Regions from separate parts of the Homo sapiens genome. Here region 1 is linked to region 2. Evidence: promoter capture Hi-C in human tissues and cell types (Jung and others, 2019). All regions are on one chromosome and are shown on one strand. The core of a region is centred on a gene start or on the middle of the fragment in contact, and the rest is flanking DNA. Distances in the headings are between cores, read along the strand shown.

Region 1 (3,434 bases), core at 931-3,430, 41 kb after region 2:
TAAACCCTATTCCCTAATCTAGCAAAGCAAATAGACCAGCAAAGCTTCTAGGCACTAATTAGATATTTCCTTTATTAATTAAATAGACTGAGAAGGGAAGCAGGCATGCAATTAATGTTCTACGTTTTAGAGCCATGAAAATTGACCATGTCTTGTGTCCTCTCAACATAAGAAATGCTGGGGATATGGTTTGACTCCTCAAGTTATCACCAAATTTCCTTTTCCATGAATAAGCAACGCTACTGCGGTCCTTAGAGACCCTCTAGGTTGTGGTTAAAAGTGGGCTTTCTGAAATCAGGCTGAATTCCAGCTCTACTACTTACTGAGTTACCTTGAGTATGTAAATTCTTTATGCCTGTTTTCTCATCTATAACATGGGTAAATGATAGCAAATAACTTACACAGTTGTTTTGAAAACCAAGGAGTTAATATATGTAAAGTGTTTAGAAAGGGGATCAAGATATAGCAAGTACTATAAGGCTTACTTATCTATTGTCTCCTTTAATCAAATTTGAAATTTTTAACCCAAATTCCAAACTCCAACTAACACAAACTGAAGCAACTGATTGCTCTAAAATATGGAGGAGTTTGTGAGAGGAGAGATAAATGGGTTTTTGGGCAACTTTCAGGAATACATTTAAACCATAACAGATGAGTAGTGATATTATAGAGGTTTTACGATATTCTGATTAGCTAGAGGTCTTTAAGAGTCCTGAATCTTCCGGCCTTAGATTTGTGTTTCTTTTCATGGGAGACCACATTTAGGTGAACTAATTATGGGTTTTATCTAAACTGAAATCTCTCTACAAAATTATCTTTTTCTCCTTATTTACAACAAAAGTCTAAGTGTTTTGCTGGATACTCTAGCATGAGACCTCAAAGTCATTTTTAATCCTGTATATTTCCTTGTTCCAAACCCAATTAATGGCCAAATTTGGACAAATATTTTTTACAGTAGAGTCTTTACCATTCACTTTCTGTTGCCATTTCATTAATTCCTCATCTTTCCACTGCTTCATTACTCTGGGCTTTCCACCACATTCTTTGCTACTAGCGAAGCTTTCTTCATCCTTGTTGAAGTAAATAGAAGACTTGGTTTTTATTTTTCCTTCCAAGGATATAGATTTCAGAAGAAATATCTGCACTCCATGTTCATCACAGTATTATTAATAATTGCCAAAGTATGGAAATAACCTAAGTGCTGACAAATGAATAAAGAAGAAAATATTTCATATACACACAGAGAAAGAGAGAGAGAATGAAATATTATTCAGTCACAAAAAAGAAGGAAATCCTGCCATTTGCAATGACATGGATGAACCTGGAGGACATTATGCTAAATGAAATAAGCCAGACACAGCAAGACAAATACTGTATGATGTCGCCTGTATGTGGAGTCTTAAAAAGTTGATCCCATAGAAAGAGAATAAAATGTGTAGTTACCAGGGTCTGGGAGAGGGAGGGCAGTGGAGAAAATGGGGAGATGTTGGTCAAAAGATACACACTCTCAGTTATAAGATGAATAAGATCTGGGGATCTAATATATAGCATAGTGACTATAATTAATAATATTGTACTATATACTTGAAATTTGCTATGAGGGTAAATCTTATGCTCTCACTATACATACACACACACACACACAAATGGTACCTATGTGAGATGATGCATGCGTTAATTAATGTAATTTTAATCATATAACTATATATATGGGCATCCAGTTATCATATTATAAATTTTTTGCCAATTATATCTCAATAAACCTGGAAAAATAAATAATGACAAATATAAATTTCTTTATCATACTGTGTTCTGTTTTGCTTGAAAAGATTTTGATAGAAAATTTTAGAGTGAGTTGAAGCAAAAAACAAACAAACAAACAAACAAAAACAGAATAATCAGTCTCCTCAACTTAAAAGGACTATCACCCAACTTATGAAATTCACTAGATAACCATAGAAATAAAATGTGCTTAGTTTGTTTTGCCACAATTTTGGTGGAGAAATGAAGAGGTACGTAAGAAGTGGGGGAATCAAAGAAAAAAGAAAAGAAATAAGAAATGTATATGTTCCTAAGATGTGTGAATTTTCATTAGGACAATTTCATTTACTAAGTGACATTTGACCAGTTAACTAAATGATAAATATTCTCACTTGCTGTATAAGAAAAACTGTTTGTAATAACCACTTTTTATACTATGTTATGGCAATAGAATGAAATCAAGAAATTTTTTATAAAAGAAAAACAGCCATATAGGTTCACTTCTGCTAAAATTATTAAATTATTTAAGAAAGAAATATTAAAGGTAACCAAGTAGTAGATTTATTCCTAATATAAAAAGCTATGTTTGAGCTTAAAAGAATACCAAGACAGACAAACATGCCTAGATGGAGATATAGATAGATAGATAGATAGATAGATAGATAGATAGATAGATGATAGATAGATAGATAAATACATGTAGATATATAGCTATGTCTTCGTTCTTAGAACGTACAATGTTTCATTGCCAACAGATATCCATACTGGCATGAAAATTGATGTTAGTGAGGTCATCAATAAGTTATTCCTGACTTTCAGATCACTATGCAGCAATTGAAGAAAGCTTTGAAATGGATATCATAATTTTACTTTGGACATTTGTTATTCCTAACTTGATGCATACCCCTTCTGAATTTTAGAAATGCCTTGATGTGTGTGTGTGTGTGTTTTTTTGTGTGTGTGTATGTGTATATGATCTCTCTCTCACACACATACATTTATGGAAACAAAGCAAGGGGGAAGAATATGTCTGTTAGCTTCAATTTTGCATGCATAAAAATGTATGAGAGAAAGGACTGAAAACAAGAGCAAAGAAGACATAGGAGACAGGAAATGTCAGGCTTGCTAGACTGTACCGAGGTAAAAAAAATTTACTCTAAAAATAAGTCCTACCATTTTACTTATTGGTGGTAATTTGATTTTGTATTCAACACAAACATATTGTATCAATTAACGATTAAATCAACCTTGTTATCTTACCAAGCTAAGACTAATGTTGCACAGTGGATATCAGCATTTCAGGGATCTTACTTTGAGATTATCAGCTATCCCAGTTTTTAAGGATTGTTTGAATATAACTGCACAAAACACTAGTTTATCCTCTATTGGTTTTGAAAAGTCTTCTGTAACTTAAAAGCTGTGGTCATCATGGGTCTCTGGTGTCTATGTAAAAAACTGTTTGGTTGATTATTTTCCCCAAAGAATGATTCATGAAGATCAACCCCATCTAAACATAAAGCAATACCACTTTCAAACACTTTGTTTGTTTGTTTCTCTTTATAATTTTCAGCGAAAAAAAAAAAAAAAGAGAGAGAGAGAGGGAGAGGTATAAATGGAGTTGGTCTGAGTAGGGCTCCACTGTCCCATTCCTTTGCTCCCTAACCATGTCTTCT
Region 2 (3,342 bases), core at 198-2,697:
AAATCAAGAGCAACTCCTAGCCTCCTCCATCTCCTGTCATTTTCAGCAGAGACTTCCTCCACACTGCCCTCTGCATGTGAAAAGTCTCCCAGCCTTCTACTCTTCATTCATCAAGGTACACTCTCCTTCCATTCACAATTTATTTCAAGTTATCCCTCCCTTCCAAAGCCCCTTTTCTGGAGGTATATTCCCCAACTGCCCTAATACATTCCATCATCGCACTCACCATGTTGCCATCTCACCCCCTCCCCAACCCTCAGAAATTGTTTAGGGGGAGGGGGATGAGGGGTCGAGGAAACCCGTGTTTGCATACAGACCTAGACCGGGACAAATAGCCTAGCATTAAGCTTAGTCTCATCTTTGGAGAAAACAAAACAAAACAAAACAACAACAAACAGTTGACATGAATAATTCCTGAGCCTGGCAACAAGCAGACTGAAAAAAAAAAATATTTGGCTGAATGGATGTAAGAATGAATGGATGGATGGATGATTGAGATCTCTGTGGTACTTTTCTCCGATGCCCCTCCTTCTTGCTCCAGGCATGGATCCTGTTTAATTCAGCTTCTATGAGTGAGTGCACTTCCCTGCTTTGCCTCCGTCTCCACTCCCTGCTGGTTCATTACCACCTCTTGACTGGAGACTAAACCTCCTCGCCAAAGGGCAATGCCACCTAGCTCACAAATGCTTTGTGACTTCCACAGCCACAGAGAGCTTGCTCCTTAGGGATGTAGCTTTGTATTCTGCAAGCTCTGTCTCGTCCCAACCCCCCTGAAACACCCAGCCACGTTACACAAAGGGATGACTGACTCCCCCACCTACCCACCCACACACACACACACTCAACAAAATCCACCTGGAGATCCCTGCCGCGGCCCCTCTCCCTGCGCTTGTAATCTAGGTGCTCGAAAAAGAAACGCGGTTTCCCCGTTATTCCTGCAAAACAGGGAATAACCTTTCCAGGGCTCGGTCCCGGTTCGGAAAATCAGAAAACTTTCTATTATTATTATTATTTTATTAGAAAACCCCATCCGAGAGCAGCGACCTCTTTGTTTGCTTCCCGGGGGAGGGAGGGGTCTCTTTAGAGCCTTCTCAGCCCGGGGCGGAGAGGGGGTGATAGCCCCTAGGAGGGCTGCCCGGGAGGAGACTCACCCAGGACGTTCCCAATGAGAGCCACGACGAACACGATGATGTACCCGGCGATCAGGACCCACTCATATTCTTTCGGGTGCAGGTATTCCCTCCACAGGTACCGCAGGAATTCCTCGTCGTCATAGTCGGTGGGGTTTAAAAAGGGCTCTTGAGTTTCATTCAGCTCCGAAGCAGATGACCAGTTGCGACAAGGGGGGGAGTCCTCCAATTTGGTGCCGGACATCACGGGCTCAAGTCCGGTTCCGCTCAATGCTGCAAGCTCCTCTCCGCCTGCCCCATGAGCACTGGTGATTTGCGGTGGGAAAGGCTGCGCGGAGAGGCTAGAAGGGGCTCCCGAGCAGAAAATGACGTGAAAAGTTACTGAGCCAATGCCTCCGGAGTCTTCTGCCGGGCAACTTCTGCGGTGGCTTTGCTGTCTTTACAGGCGATGTTGCACCGGGAAGATAGGCAGCTGAGGAACTAGGGACCCGGCACTGGAGGCTGCAGCAATGACACCAGGAGGAGAAAGCTACGTCCGGCTCAGCTGAAGCTCAATTACTCCTCATTCCAGCACTCAGTCCGCAGCCCACAGCCTCCTCCCTCGCTGAGGGAGAGCTGAAGCTGAAGAAAAAAAAAAAAGTAATGAAAACTAATTTAATCTGTTTTTTTGGGGGGTGGGGGGTGAGAGTTAAATCTCTCTCTTTTTCTACTTATTTTCTCTATTTTTACGTGCACTTATTATAAACCATGCACAGACATGCATCAGTCTGTGGATATGACAAAAATGTCAACATACAATTAATACAGAGCATGTTGATACATTTGTCTTTGTAAAGCAAATATAAAAGCAATAAGGAGGTGCCTCTGTGTTTCTCAAGCAGGACAATGGAAAAGTCATTCCAGGCAAACACTTTAACATTTAATATAAACTTATTTTAACATTTGACATTTGCCAACTTAGTACTTGCCGAGTCTTTAAGACATCTCCGTCTTCACTTTCTCCTTAAAATTTGAGAATGAGACTGTTTTTAAACTGAAGGGTCTATTTAGCTGGAATTTGTATTTGCGATAGTTAAGTGTCATGTGAAATAGAGCTACAAATTCTTGAAGGACGCCAAGTGTCATAAATATGATCATAGTTAATGTTGTCAAGCATGACAGACCACCAATATACTCAATGATATTAAACATTCACTGTAGGATGTAGCAATCTAAGCAGAAGTGCTCTCTCTGGTAAATACCACATCCCATTGGGTCTTTCTTCCCATTGATTCAGGGCTGATGTCACCTGCCATTCTCTCATGCACTGGTTTTGTCTCTAATAATAAGTATTCTAGCATTTGTCAGAATGTGAATTCATGATCCTTTTATTCTTAATAAACATGGTAAAAATATTGCATTTAAGTAATTACAATCTTGCACTTGGGAAGAGCCTGGAAATCTTGTCTGAACTTCAGCTTCAGAGTAGAAGCCTCCTGATAACATTGCTGACATGTCCCCATCTAGCTTGAATGTGACCACCACAATTCACTACTTCCATCCTTATGGGAGTGCTCTAAGGGTGAGAAAACTGTTTCTTACATTAAACCAAGGTCTCAAGCCACGATTTGTCTTTTTGAGACTTTTACCTCTAATTCCTAGTTTGCATCTTGGTGCTACACAGAATAAATCTTCCACATGACAATGCTTCACAGATTCAAAATAAACATCACAGCCCCAGCGCTCCTTTATATGCCCTCATGTTTCTTTTTTAGTATTTTTCTTTTCAATGTTGTTCAAATGACAGTAGCTCCCACCTACATCTGTTTGGTCTTCCTTTAGACAATTGTCAATATCTTGCAAAATATGTAACTGGGAGGAAGTAACAATAATATGGTTTGAGTCTTGCCAGTGCAAAAAGTACATTATTCTTTGGATGCAACCAGTTTTTATATGTAATTATTTTTTCAACACACACAAGACATTGGTGGTTTACACTGAGATTTAGTTAACTACCCCACCCCCTCCTCCAATCATAATTTTTCATATTTGTTTTGTGCTTTATGGTTTATAAAATTATTTCATATGCATTTTTAAACCCCTGAGGGCTTAGCTATTACTAACCCCCTTTAATAGATGAGGAAGCTGTTCCTGGGGAAATTAGATGATTTACGAAAGATAAATGGATTAATCAGCAGCAAAACCATCTGTTCTTTCTTCTATTTATAGAATA

The links. Contacts are between HindIII fragments. The study calls those that stand out against the background at their distance.
Region 1: a fragment that was not itself captured here is called in contact with the fragment with the promoter of HCRTR2 in region 2 in 4 of the 25 tissues and cell types used here (H1 embryonic stem cells, adrenal gland, heart right ventricle and 1 more).

What each region holds. Positions count from the first base shown.
Region 1 is chr6:55,132,666-55,136,099 of GRCh38, reverse strand. It overlaps a transcript of HCRTR2 not described here. Among named protein-coding and RNA genes, the nearest start is that of HCRTR2, 40 kb to the left of the region's middle. The HindIII fragment of the contact is 3,256 bases long and covers 553-3,434 here.
Region 2 is chr6:55,172,620-55,175,961 of GRCh38, reverse strand. It overlaps HCRTR2 (hypocretin receptor 2), which reads right to left and starts at 1,447. Exons shown (of 7, transcript NM_001384272.1): 1 at 1,152-1,447. The coding sequence starts at 1,374. The HindIII fragment of the contact is 12,053 bases long and covers 1-3,342 here.